3 separate regions of the Homo sapiens genome follow, and regions 1 and 3 are each linked to region 2. Evidence: promoter capture Hi-C in 16 types of primary human blood cells and fetal thymus (Javierre and others, 2016). All regions are on one chromosome and are shown on one strand. Each heading gives the region's core, a stretch centred on a gene start or on the middle of the fragment in contact. The rest is flanking DNA. Distances are from core to core; before and after follow the strand shown.

Evidence for each region. Contacts are between HindIII fragments. The CHiCAGO score rates a contact against its expected background, and 5 or more counts as called.
Region 1: a contact is called between a fragment that was not itself captured here and the fragment with the promoter of OR2C1 in region 2, in 4 of 17 cell types (erythroblasts, M1 macrophages, monocytes and 1 more). The highest score is 8.1, in erythroblasts.
Region 3: a fragment that was not itself captured here is called in contact with the fragment with the promoter of OR2C1 in region 2 in 3 of 17 cell types (erythroblasts, M1 macrophages and monocytes); the score reaches 5.5 in erythroblasts.

What each region holds. Positions count from the first base shown.
Region 1 is chr16:3,201,591-3,205,941 of GRCh38, reverse strand. It overlaps OR1F1 (olfactory receptor family 1 subfamily F member 1), which reads right to left. Exons shown (of 4, transcript NM_001370640.6): 4 at 1-1,707. The coding sequence starts at 1,695. The coding sequence ends at 757. Among named protein-coding and RNA genes, the nearest start is that of TRP-AGG1-1, 12 kb to the right of the region's middle. The HindIII fragment of the contact is 1,050 bases long and covers 1,749-2,798 here.
Region 2 is chr16:3,352,775-3,357,669 of GRCh38, reverse strand. It overlaps OR2C1 (olfactory receptor family 2 subfamily C member 1), which reads right to left and starts at 1,781. Exons shown (of 1, transcript NM_012368.3): 1 at 364-1,781. The coding sequence starts at 1,729. The coding sequence ends at 791. The HindIII fragment of the contact is 3,889 bases long and covers 1-2,198 here.
Region 3 is chr16:3,223,394-3,228,206 of GRCh38, reverse strand. ZNF200 (zinc finger protein 200) reads left to right here. Exons shown (of 5, transcript NM_198088.3): 5 at 3,594-4,813. The coding sequence ends at 4,315. Among named protein-coding and RNA genes, the nearest start is that of ZNF200, 9.4 kb to the left of the region's middle. The HindIII fragment of the contact is 1,283 bases long and covers 2,710-3,992 here.

The DNA.
Region 1 (4,351 bases), core at 1,024-3,523, 150 kb after region 2:
TCCCTTGTTCCCTAAAATCACTGTTATTCTGTTCTTTTTCAAGGTGCACTGATTTCATATTGTTCAAATACACATGTTTTACAATCAATTTGTATAGTTAGGTAGAATTATCACAGTGGTCCTGAGGTGACGTACATCGTCAGCTTACGAAGATAACAGGATTAAGAGATTAAAGTAAAGACAGGCATGAGAAATTATAAGTGTTAATTTCGGGAACTGATAAATGTCCGTGAAATCTTCACAGCTTATGTTCAGAGATTGCAGTAAAGACAGGCGTAAGAAATTATAAAAGTATTAATTTTGGGAACCGATACATGTCCATATTAAAATGAAATCTTCACAATTTATGTTCCTCTGACACAGCTCCAGCTGGTCCCTCTGTTCAGGGTCCCTGACTTCCCGCAACAGCATCCAGCCTGGCGACATAGAGAGACTCCGTCTCAAAAAAAAAAAAAAAAATTTAGCTAGGCATGTGGCACACACCTGTGGTCCCAGCTACTCAGGAGGCTGAGGCAGGAGGATCACTTGAGCCTGGGAGATGGAGGGTGCAGTGAGCCAAGATCACGGCACTGCACTCCAGCCTGGGTGACAGAGCATGACCCTGTCTCAAAAAAAATTATAATTAATAGTTTAACTTAGTATAATTACTAAGTGTGTCACTAGCAAGAACATCATTTAATGAAACAACTACTGCATTAAACTCAATTGGTGAAAAATAAATTTCCTTGGGAATGAGATTCAGTCTTGATTATTTCATCAGACAGAAAACACCACCCTGCCAACTACTTTTTTCAGAGCCCCTTTCAAGTACCTGTTCCTCAGGCTGTAGATGAAAGGGTTTAGCATGGGAGTCACTACTGTATACAACACAGTAGCCATAGTGTCTTTCTCAGCTGAGTGGGAGGACAGAGGGTTAAAATACACAGCAATGATGGTGCTGTAGAAGAGGAGAACCACAGCCAGGTGAGAACCACAGGTGGAGAAGGCTTTCCACCTTCCCTTTGTGGATGGGACCTTCAGGACAGTGCAGGTGATGTGCATATAAGAAGCCAGGATGCAAAGAAATGGGGTGATCATGACCAGGGCACCCTCACTAAGGATTATGACCTCATTGAGGTGTGTGTCTGAGCAGGAGAGTTTCAGTAGGGGAGTCACATCGCAGAAGAAGTGAGTGATGGCATTGTCTGCACAGAATGAGAGTGGAGCCATCAGCAGGGTGTGCAGAAGGACATTCAGGTTGGCAACCACCCATAATCCAGCAACCAGCAGGGCACAGAGCTGATGGGTCATCTTTGCTGTGTAATGTAAGGGGTGGCACACGGCGACAAAGTGGTCATAGGCCATCACAGCTAGGAGGAAATTGTCCATGTCCACGAACATGAAAACGAAATACATCTGTGTGAGACAGCCACAGAAGGAGATGGTCTGAGTCTCGAGTATGTGATTGGCCAGCATCTTGGGGACGGTGGTGAAGGAGAAGCAGATGTCCACAAAAGACAGGTTGCTGAGGAAGAAGTACATGGGGGTGTGCAGGCAGGAGTCTATGCTTACGGACAGGATGATGAGCAGGTTCCCCAGGACAGTGGCCAGGTACATGCTGAGGAAGAACACAAAGAGGAGATGCTGCTGCTGGGGCTGCCTGGAGAGTCCCAGGAGGAGGAACTCGGAGACACTCGACTGGTTTGTCCCGCTCATGGGCCTGGGATCCTGGACACAGAGGCAGACAAAGAAGACGAAATGCAAAAGCTTGGAAAATGCTGGTTAAGATGGGGCACAGGAATGGCAGTAGAATTTTGCTTGCAGGATGTAAATGATAATATTGTCAACCCTGCTGGGGCTGCTACTGCTATGTTCAGGGCTCAGGTTTACAGAAGTCTGAGCCAGGCCTTCTTGGCTATATCCACGGAGCACCCTGAGTCCAATTTGTAAAATTAAAATGGAACAACCCAGAGGTCTGGGCAGAAACTCAGTCAGTTTGTGTTCCCCACAGTTCAGGATGTCAGACAGACGGGACAGAGGCTGGTCCTGACTGGGTGATTGCAAGGGACTGCTGCTGAGCTCAGGACTGTTTTTCTGGCTCCACATAATTGAAAGGAAGGAGGGTCCCTCTGAGGCTTTAAGTCCTGACAAGCAGTTATCAGTGAAGTCCCACTGATGTGACTCTTTTTATTTCTTTTTTTAAACGGAGTCTCGCTCTGTCGCCAGGCTAGAGTGCAGTGGCGAGATCTTGGCTCGCTGCAACCTTCAGCTCCCTAGTTCAAGTGATTCTCCTGCTTCAGCCTCCCAAGTAGCTGGGATTATAGGCACGTGCCACCACGCCCAGCTAATTTTTGTATTTTTAGTAGAGACGGGGTTTCACCATGTTGGCCATGATGGTCTCTATCTCTTGACCTCGTGATCCGCCCGCCTTGGCCTCCCAAGGTGCTGGGATTACAGGCGTGAGCCACCACACCTGGCCAATGATCTGACTCTTACCCAGAAAGAGCAGCAGTCCTCACTGTCTCCTGAAGTCCTGGGTTGGCTTCCCTTTTTCAGACCTGGCCAGAGGTTATTGGTCTGAGGGAGGGTGACTCGTCACTGGAGCTTTGAGGCTGAGTATCTCATGAATCAGGAGCTGGGCTGCACAGACTCAGCCCTTGATGCAGGAAGGATGTTTGGAAGAATCACAGGGCAAGCTCTTCACAGGAGCCTCCATGGCCACTAGGGTCATATTCCCTGAGAGCCTCATTGAGAAAAGCAGAGAGTAATTGTCCCTTCCCCTCCTTGGCTCTTTTGTGTCCGACACTGACGATAAAGCTTTGTCATACATAATTCCTGCCTCAGCACTTGGCAACACTGAAAGTGATGCAATCTAAGGGGTAATCATTGGCAACAATCCTTCTGCTAGAGGAAACTCACGACCCTGTATTTTATCCCCCACCCAGCTGGGATGCTGATCTTGTTGGGAGATACCTGTGAAGCTGTACTGGGATTAAGAAGATAACCTTTGGATTTTCACAGACCAGCACTCAATTTCCAGATCCACCATTACCAGTTGTATAGCCTTAGAAAAGCTAGTAACCTCCACTGAATCACCAGCTCCCATCATCTATAGAGTGGAGAAATAATATTCACCTTGTAGGGTTGTAATAACTAAACTAGGTAATTTATGTTAAATATCTCGTGACTCTTAACCTCATCAATGCACTGGGCTAAGACCATGTCCACTAGGTGAAGGCTGAAGATATTAAATTGTTATTATTATTATTATTATTATTATTATTATTATTATTATTATTATTTTGAGATGGAATTTCATTCTTGTTGCCCAGGCAAGGTACTACAGGCGTGCACTACCATGCCCACCAGGCTGGGCAACAGAGCGAGAATTCGTCTTAAAAACAAACAAACAACAAGAACAACAAACAACCCATAAAGCTAATTACGAAAGATCTGGGGAGGAGGAGGAGAATGGACACTGAATTAGCAAAGACATTATTTGCAAGCGATAGAAAACCAACTCATATCAGCCTAGGGAGAAATGACAGGTTAATGTCATTACAAAATCCAAGGTGTCTTCTTGCAAAGCCTTTGTGTTTCAGGCCAGACCAAATTCAGGGAGCTGAATGATAACATCAAGACCCTGTATTTCTCTATCTCACTACTGCATTGGCTTCTGCTCAGCTTCATTCTGCAGATTACCTCTCCTCATGTGGCAGCAAGATGTCCAACAGTGGCTCCAAATTCACATCCTTCCAGACTAGCAGCCACAGGGCACATGAAACTTCCCTCTACCAATGTTTATTTATTAATAACATTGTACTGATGCAGGACAAGCGAGCCCCAAAGTGAGGCCTAGTCTGCAAGGGTTCTTGGCTTTGCCCAGGAAAGAATACAAGGGCGAGCCAGTGGTAGAAGAAAACAGCTTTACTAAAGCAGCAGGCAGTGTTACAGCTGCCTGACTGCTCCTGCAGAGGAGGGCTCCCCCATAGGCAGTGTGCTGAGAGTAACAGCTCTAGGGAGTTTTGCAGCCATATTTATACCCATTTTTAAGTACATGTAGAATAAGGTGCAGTTTATGCAGAAATTTCTAGGGAAGGGGTAGTAACGTTTGGGTCACTGAGTCATTGCCATGGAAAGGGGCAGTGACGCCTGGGTGTCACTGGTGGGTATGTCTTATGGAAAGCTGCTTCCGCCCCATCTCTTTTAGCTAATCCTCAATTTGGTCCAGTGTCCGAGCCCTGCTTCCTACCTCAACTCCAGGTAAGGTTGTGATCATCCCTTCGTGGGTCATGTGTCCAAACCTGAACAAACCATTCTGCATGGAAGAACAGAGTACTCTCATCATTCTGGATCATCAGCTCAATCCATT
Region 2 (4,895 bases), core at 532-3,031:
AGGTGCGGTAGATCACACCCATAATCCCAGCACTTGGGGAAGTCAAGGCAGGAAGATTACTTGAGGCCAAGAATTCTAGACCAGCCTGGGCTGTTAACAGAGTGAGACCCCATCTGTAAAAAATAAAAATAAAAATTAGTTAGGTGTGGTAGCATGTGCCTATAGTCCCAGCTACTCAGAAGACTGAAGGATTGCTTGAGCCCAGGAGTTGAAGGCTGCAGTGAGCTAAGATCATGCCACTCTACTTCAGCCTGGGCAACAGAGCAAGACTCCAACTCTTAAAAAAAATGAAGAAGAGACAAAAAGAGGTAGGCAAAGATAATGACAGATAGGGTAAAAACATGAATTGTTTGGGTCTTCATATGAAGTTAATAATACATGGCTTGATTTTATGGAATTATAGTAACATTATGTAAGATACTGCAAGTGGAGGTGCTTTGCTTAGAAAAGTACAGAATTCTGCAGAAATATAAGGCATATTAAATAACATGTGGGCAACAGAGACAGAGACAGTGAGACAGGTCTGTCACAGGTCAATAACCTCTGAGCCCTCAACAACATGTCTCCCCTGCTATCGGTAGTCCACAGTAGGATTTTTGGTAAATAAGTGTAGAACATTACGAATAACACTAACCATGTTCCCAACAGCTTAGGGCTGTCAGCTTAGGGCTGTCAGGAACATGCCTTGGTTTTACCGGAATTAGTATTCCTCATGTTCACCTGGCCAGAGAGAGTTAATGAGAAACGCATGTAGAGATGAAGACGCAATAAATAACGAAGGAGTGTTCTCTCAGCCAACTTCTCTTCCTTTCCCCAGCAACCTCCTCAGTGCGCCCTTCACTTCCATGTTCCGCAGCGTGTAGATGAGGGGATTCACCATGGGTGTGACCAACGAGTAGAACAGGGAAATGAACTTGCCCTGGTCCTGTTTGCTGTTCTTGGCCGGAAGCAGATACCCATAGCTGGCTGAGCCATAGAAGAGGAACACCACCAGCAGATGGGAGAGGCACGTATTGAACGCCTTTCGCCTCCCCTCTGCAGAGCGGATTTTCAGCACTGCCTGAGCAATGAGGCAGTAGGAGATCACGATGATGCTTAGTGGGACTGCAGTGAAGAAGGTGCAGACACCATTGAGCACAGCCTGGTTGAGACTTGTGTCGCCACAGGCCAGTTTGATCATGGCAGGCACCTCGCAGAGGAATCCCTCCACCCTCCGGTGCCCACACAATGGGAGCTGCAGAGTGAATGTTGACTGGATCACAGAGTTGCCCAAGCCACCCAGGCAGGCAATCACAGCCAGCAGCCAGCAGAGCTGGGGGTTCATGATGGCGGTGTAGCGGAGGGGCCGGCACACTGCCACGTAGCGGTCAAATGCCATCACCACCAGCAGGATGCACTCGGTGGCCCCCAGCCAAAGGAAGACATAGAGCTGGGTTATGCAGCCACCATAGCTGATGGTCTTGCCTGGTCCCCATAAATTGATCAGCATTTGGGGGACTGAACTAGTAGCGAAAGCAAGGTCCAAGGAGGAGAGGTTGCTGAGGAAGAAGTACATGGGTGTATGGAGCCGGGCCTCCAGGCGGGAAAGCAAGATGATGGTTGAGTTCCCAAGTAGGGTCAGCAAATAGGAGAAGAGGATGGCTATAAAAAAGATCATCTCCAGCTGGGGATGGTCTGATATGCCCATCAGAACAAAGCCCTGCAAGGAGCTATCATTCACCCCGTCCATCACTGGTTGTCTTCAGTCACTTGATGAATTCATTTAGCGCAAGCTGCTGGAAGAAAAGTCAAGAAAAAGCTGTTGGATGAGGTGGATTTGCATCAGGAACGGTCTAATAGTTCTCTGGGATCCATAGTTAAGTAACAACCTATTTTTTGTTTGTTTTTTGAGACAGAGTCTCTCACTGTCACCCAGGTTGGAGTGCAGTGGCACAATCTCAGCTCACTGCAACCTCCTTCTCCCTGGCTCAAGCAATCCTCTTGTCTCAGCCTCCCAAGTAACTGTGACCACAGGTGTGTGCCACCACATCCAAATAACTTTTGTATTTTTTGTAGAGATGGGGTTTTGCCATGTTGCCCAGGGTTGTCTCCAACTCTTGGGCTCAAGTGATCCATCTGCCTCAGCCTCCCAAAGTGCTGGGATTACAGGCATGAACCACTGCACCTGGACTCCAACTTACTTTTTAAGATTGCAAGCTTTTTTTTTTTTTTTGAGACAGAGTCTCGCTCTGTCACCCAGGCTGGAGTGCAGTGGTGCAATCTCGGCTCATTGCAACTTCCGCCTCCCAGGTGCAAGCAATTCTCCTGCCTCAGCCTCACGAGTAGCTGGGACTACAGGCATGCACCACCATGCCTGGCTAATTTTTGTTTTAGTAGAGACGGGGTTTCACCATGTTGGCCAGGCTGGTCTCGAACTCCTGACCTCGTGATATGCCAGCCTCAGCCTCTCAAAAAGCTGGGATTACAGGTGTGAGCCACCGTGCGTGGCCTAGATTTCAAACTTCTGTTGTAATCCCCATCTACTGTTGGTTACACACCGAATGGAAAAGTTGATTCCATCAGAATGTCAGGTATGAGCTAACACGGAAATGAAGGAAGTGCCTCATGATGACAAAACCAAAAGACCCCAAGAACTGAAGAGCCCTTCAGTTCAGAACAATGGCTATGACGGGATAGAGAGAGTTGACCATTAGAATTAGATGTGAAAGTTCTCAAAAACTTTCAGTCAGACTGAAATTTCAGTCAGGCATGGTGGCTCACACCTGTAATCCCAGCATTTTAAGAGGCTGAGGTGGGAGGATCTCTTGAGCCCCAGTGTTCAAGGCAGCAGTGAGCCCCTGTACTCCAATGCCTGAGTGACAGAGGGAGACCCTATCTCTTGAAAACAACAGCAACAACACATTTCCCCAGCCAAGATTCTGATACGCTCAGGGAAGGGGGGAAGCAGACACATTGTATTTGGAAAAGCTCCCCAGAATTTTCTGTTAAATTTCCTCTGCTCTCTTCTACATCCCTCCCCTCTGAGTTTTACCTCAGTGCTGGATCTAGAAAGATGATGTTTGAGGAATAACATGATGAATCTATAAAGTCACAGAAATAATGGAAAGAGTAGATACAGACTTATGCTCCAAATACAGAAGCTGGGAATGTACAATTTAAGAGGAGGTCAATGTAGAGCAAACAAAACTTCACTTAAGCTTAAATAAGTTTAGGTGGAAAAGGCAAAAGATATAAACAGAGGTTACACAAAAAGGGGTTAAAATAGTTAATGGGTATTCATAATTAGTAAGGGAAATTAGAAGATTTACAGAGGAGATCCCTCTTTTGAGGTATATAACTACTGTGTCCACGTCTAAATCATCAAATAATTCTTAACATCTCATGAGACCGGGTACAGTGGCTCACGCCTGTAATCCCAACACTTTGGGAGGTCAAAGTGGGCAGATCACTTGAGGCCAAGAGTTTGAGATCAGCCTGGCCAACATGGTGAAACCCCGTCTCTACTAATAATACAAAAAATTTGTCGGGCATGGTGGCGGGCGCCTGCAGCCCCAGCTACTCAGGAGGCTGAGGCAGCAGAAACACTTGAAACAGGGAGGCGGAAGTTGCAGTGAGTTGAGATTGCACTACTACACTTCAGCCTGGGCAACAGAGCTAGACTCTGTCTCAAAAAAAAAAAAAAAAAAGAAAAGAAAAGAAAAACAAACAAACAAACAAAAAACCCATCTCATGAACAAAAAAATCAGCTCTTGTTAATAATGGGCCAATCACCATCCCCTTTCCTTGGCCAGGATCTCAACTTTTCTGAAGATCATAAACCACAGCCCTTCCCCTTCCTTCCTTCCTTCCTTCCTTCTTTCTCTTTTTTTGAGATGGAGTCTAGCAGTGTCACCCAGGCTGGAGTGCAGTGGCGTGATCTCAGCTCACTGCAACCTCTGCCTCCCAGGTTCAAGCGATTCTCCTGCCTCAGCCAACCAAGTAGCTGGGATTACAGGAGTGCACCACCACGCCTGACTAATTTTTGTATTTTTAGTAGAGGCGGGGTTTCACCATGTTGGCCAGGCTGGTCTTGAACTCCTGGCCTCAGGTTATCTGCCTACCTTGGCCTCCCAAAGTGTTGGGATTACAAGCATGAGCTACCATTCCCGGCCTACTTATTCTTTTTTTTTTTTTTTTTTTTGAGACGGAGTCTCGCTCTGTCACCAGGCTGGAGTGCAGTGGCGGGATCTCGGCTCACTGCAACCTCCACCTCCTGAGTTCAAGCAATTCTCCTGCCTCAGCCTCTCAAGTAGCTGGGACTACAGGTGCACACCACCATCCCCAGCTCATTTTTGTGTTTTTAGTAGAGATGGGGTTTTGACCATGTTGGCCAGGATGGTTTCGATCTCTTGACCTCGTGATCTGCCCGCCTCAGCCTCCCAAAGTGCTGGGATTACAGGCGTGAGCCACCGCGACCGGCCTACTTATTCTTTTCATCTAGGACTTAAGAGAGCTGAGGAACTGAGTTACTAACCGGATAATCAGCTCATCTTTCTTTTCAGAAGTTCTTCCTGAAACCCATTCTACTACCTCCTGCCAGTTCAGGTGCTTGTTCCCTTGTGTCCCTTTAGGGCAAAGAAATAGACAGGGCCGGGCGCAGTGGCTGACGCCTGTAATCTCAACACTTTGGGAGGCCGAGGCAGGCAGATCACTTGAGGTCGGGAGTTCGAGACCATCCTGGCCAACATGGTGAAACATGTCTCTACTAAAAATAAAAAAAAATTATCCGGGCGTGGTGCTACATGTCTGTAATCCCAGCTACTCAGGAGGCTGAGGCAGGAGAATCACTTGAACCCAGGAGGCGGAGTTTGCAGTGAGCTGAGATAATGCCATTGCACTCCAGCCTGGGCAACAAG
Region 3 (4,813 bases), core at 2,102-4,601, 130 kb after region 2:
ATATAAATGGGGTCATTTAGAAGATACAGTGGAAGGCCCCATTAGAATAGAAACATGAAAGTTTAAATACTTAGGAATAAACTCAAGAAATGTGCAAATTTATGAGGAAACTTTAAAACAAGGCTAAAGGACAAGAGTAGATTTCAACGAAAGCAAAAAAAAAAAATACTATGTTTTTGGCTAGGGAGACAATATCATAAAAAGGTCATTTCTCCTCTTGTTGATTTATTAATTTGATGTGTTTTTTTTCAACAATACCAATAGCATTTTTCCCTTGGAACAAGACTGTGATCTCAGAAAGTCCCGAAATAGCCTCAAATACACATGGGAGTTTAGTGTGTGATAAAGTTGGTGTATTCGTCCATTTTCACACTGGTATAAAGAATTGTCCGAGACTTGGTAATTTATAAAGGAAACAGGTTTAATTGACTCACAGTTCAGCATGGCTGGGGAGGCCTCCAGAAACTTAAAATCATGGCAAAGGCAAGAGGAAGCAAGGCATCATCTTCACAAGGCAGCAGGAGGGAGAAGTACGAGTAAAGGGGGAAGAGCCCCTTATAAAACCATCAGATCTCATGAGAACTCACTATCATGAGAATAGCATGGGGGAAGGCCCCCCCGCCCATGACTCAGTTACCTTCACCTGATGTCTCCTTGACATGTGGGATTACAATTTAAGATGAGATTTGGGCGAGGACACAAAGCCTAACCATAAAGGGGGACTTTTTGATAAAAGGTGTTAGGACGACTGACAGCCACTTGATAAATTAGTACCTTACTTTACATACCAAGAAAAAGTCCACATGGATCAAAGATTTTAAATGTTTAAAACAAATATAAAAAGCACATTTAGAAAATATGAGTGATTCCTTTATAACCATGGGATAGGAAGGTTTTTGTAATTAAGACTCAAAAGCCCAGAAGCCTTGAAAGAAAAGATTGACAGATTCAAATACGTACAAAAGGCTGGGGCATGGTGGCTCACGCCTGTAATCCCAGCACTTTGGGAGGCCGAGGCAGGTGGATCACCTGAGGTCAGGAGTTTTGAGACCAGCCTGGCCAACATGGCAAAACCCCATTTTTACTAAAAATACAAAAATTAGCTGGATGTGGTGGGGCATGCCTATAATCCCAGCTACTCGGGAGGCTGAGGAAGGAGAATCACTTGAACCCAGGAGGTGGAGGTTGCAGTGAGCCGAGATCACGCCACTGCACTCCAGCCTGCGTGACAGGAGCAAAAAGAAGTGCAAATTAAGCCTCTAGTGAATTAACATTTTGCGTATTTCATATTTATAGAAATAAAAACACATTGATGGTGAGGTTGTTGAGAAACAGGTATATTGCTGGTGGGCATATAAAATGGTATAGTCCCTGTATAAGGGTAATTGCATCTGTAACTACCCATCTTATCCTTTGTTCCAGGAGTTCAATTCTGGAAATCTGACCTACAGATATAGCAACAGAACACATTCGAAATGATGTACAAAGAAGATTATTCACTGTGGTATTGTTTGTAAAAACACAAGGTTGGAAGCAGTCCAAGTGTAGTTAAAGAGGAAGAGTTGAGTTAAAAATTATTTAGACAAGAAATCATTGACAAAGATATACATTTATAAAAGCCTTAACCCAGTAGATTATTTTGCATAATGAAAATCCAAAGTAAAACTACAATGAGAAACTATTTTATACCTATTAAATATTTTAAAATTTAATGCTAACAAGATTAGGTAAAGTTAATATTCACATGAAATTAGTAGAGCTGTTTTTGAAAGCAGAATGGTAGTTCATGTCAAGAGCTATGGTAAAAATTGACATTTCATTATCCTAAGGGAGTGATTAAAAAGAATAATTAGGTCGGGCGCAGTGGCTCATGCCTGTAATCCCAGCACTTTGGGAGGCCTAGGCGGGTGGATCACGAGGTCAGGAGATCATCAAGACCATCCTGGCTAACACGATGAAACCCTCTCTCTACTATAAATACAAAAAATTAGCTGGGCGCGGTGGTGGACGTCTGTAGTCCCAGCTACTGGGGAGGCTCAGGTAGGAGAATGGAGTGAACCCAGGAGGCGGAGCTTGCAGTGAACTGAGATGGTGCCATTGCACTCCAACCTGGGCGACAAAGCGAGACTCCATCTCAAAAAAAAAAAAAAAAAAAGAAAGAAAAAATAATTAAGGCTGGGTGTGGGGGCTTACACCTGTAATCCCCAGCACTTTGGGAAGATTGCTTGAGTACACGAGTGCAAAACCAGCCTAGGCAACATAGCAAGACCCTATCTCTGCCAAAAAAAAAAAAAAGTGAAATAAAAAAAAATCTATTGGTGTGAAACTGCTGAATCCAGCAGAGATTCCAACTCCAGCTTCAGGATCAGCCCCCATGTCTTGGTGGTTGATTTGAACCCTTGACTCTCAGTAGGCCTGAGTTGAGGGGTCCCTTGTCACACAAGTATATCCACAGCATGGTTCTTTTTCACTTTGTTACCCAGTCTTTATAATCTGCTTACACTGACTTTTTTCTGAAGTATAATGGAAATATAGAAAAAGCCTACCAATTGTAAATATATAGCTCAAGTTTTCACAAAATGTACACACTAAGCACCACCCAAAATGGACTTTTCTTAGCATCCCAAAAATCCCTTTTGTGCCCTGTACCCACTCACTACTTCCTTTCCTACACAAAGAGAAACACTACTGACTTCTAATCCCAAAGCTTCATTAGTTGTAGTAATCTCTTTAATTGCCAAATAATAAACTTTTTTCTGTTTTGAGACAGATTCGCTCTTGTTGCCCAGGCTGGAGTGCAATGGCGCGATCTCGGCTCACTGCAACCTCTGCCTTCCGGTTTCAAGTGATTCTCCTGCCTCAGCCTCCCTAGTAGCTGAGATTACAGGCATGTGCCACCATGCCCAGCTTATTTTGTATTTTTAGTAGAGACAGGGTTTCTCCACGATGGTCAGGCTGGTCTTGAACTCCCAGCCTTGGGTGATCTGCTCGCCTTGACCTCCCAAAGTGCTGGGATTACAGGTGTGAGCCACCACGCCTGGCCAATAATAAACTTTTGTATGAATATGCTGTGCCCTCTTTAATTTTGCTTATTGGAATTGTTTCAATTTTCTCATTGTAAGACATTATGATATTATTTAGTGCTATAATAGTGTGATAATATTTAATATAGTGAAAACCTACAAGTGGTTCGTCTTACTATTCAGTTACCAGACTCCTTCAAGATGATGAGTGGTTCCCTGTATAGATGTATAGTCTTCATCCCTAGTCCTTACCTGAGTGCTCTACAGAGTATAAGGTGAATATGAACTTGTCGAGTAATTAACACCTATGAAGAGAACAAACATTTGAAGTCTTTCAGTGAAATCCCACTCATTTTATTTCTTTAAAGTGTGCTTGCATTGTGGTAGATGGAAAGATTTATCAGTTATGTATCCCACCCTCAATAAGTATGGAAAAGGAGTGCGACGGCAGTATCCGCCACTCCCCAGATTGACGTTCAAGGTGGCTGTGGCATAAGAAACCTGACTTGTTTTTTCCTGCCTGGTGTTGTGATATCTCTCAGAAGTTGTTAAATTCTCTCTTTGTTTCAGCAGTCAATGGCAGTAATCCTGAAGGTGAAGATCCTGAGAGGGAACCTGTAGAAAATGAAGATTATAGAGAAAAGTCTTCAGATGATGATGAAATGGATTCTTCCTTGGTCTCTCAGCAGCCTCCCGATAACCAGGAAAAGGAACGACTAAATACATCCATTCCACAAAAAAGGAAAATGAGAAATCTGTTAGTTACCATTGAGAATGATACTCCTCTAGAGGAACTCTCAAAATATGTAGACATCAGTATTATTGCCCTTACTCGAAATCGGAGGACAAGGAGATGGTACACTTGTCCACTGTGTGGGAAACAGTTTAATGAAAGTTCTTACCTCATTTCCCACCAGAGGACCCACACTGGAGAAAAACCCTATGACTGTAATCACTGTGGGAAAAGCTTCAATCATAAAACAAACCTCAATAAACATGAGCGAATTCATACAGGAGAGAAACCTTATTCCTGTTCTCAGTGTGGAAAAAACTTCCGTCAGAATTCTCATCGGAGTCGTCATGAAGGAATCCATATAAGGGAGAAGATATTTAAGTGTCCAGAATGTGGGAAAACCTTCCCAAAGAATGAGGAGTTTGTGCTTCATCTGCAGAGTCATGAGGCTGAGAGACCATATGGTTGCAAAAAATGTGGGAGAAGATTTGGTCGGCTGTCAAACTGTACCCGGCATGAGAAAACCCACTCAGCCTGTAAGACCCGAAAGCAGAAGTAATACTGGGAACCCTTTCTGGGTCTGATGGTGCTGCCTCAACCTGAGAGCTTTCATAAGTAGTTCTGAATTCCCAAGCTGCCTAAAAAGGTATAAATGTGTAAAAATCTCATTATTGCCAAAATTGGATAAATGCCCATCTTAGCTAAAACCTCAAATTGCTAGAAAATTCACAGGGAAGAAAACATTTCAAGGGCTATACCTCAGCATCTAGGCTTTTTGGACTAAGGAGCTTTCCTTTTTGAAGTTATATGATAATGTACAGGTCACAGATCCCCTTTCCCAACACTTTGAAGATGAATCTGGAGTCTGCTTACTTGGAAGGCAAAGAGTGACTTGTGTCTATTGAAAGTATATCCGTTTTCCCCCCACATGGGGATTCATACTTGAGAAATAGTGCAAAGATGCTTATCTGGAACTGTGTTCTGGTGAAAGAACCAAATTACTGGCTTGTTAGCCAACAGCTTCTGATAGCAATTCATATAACCCTCTAAGAATACC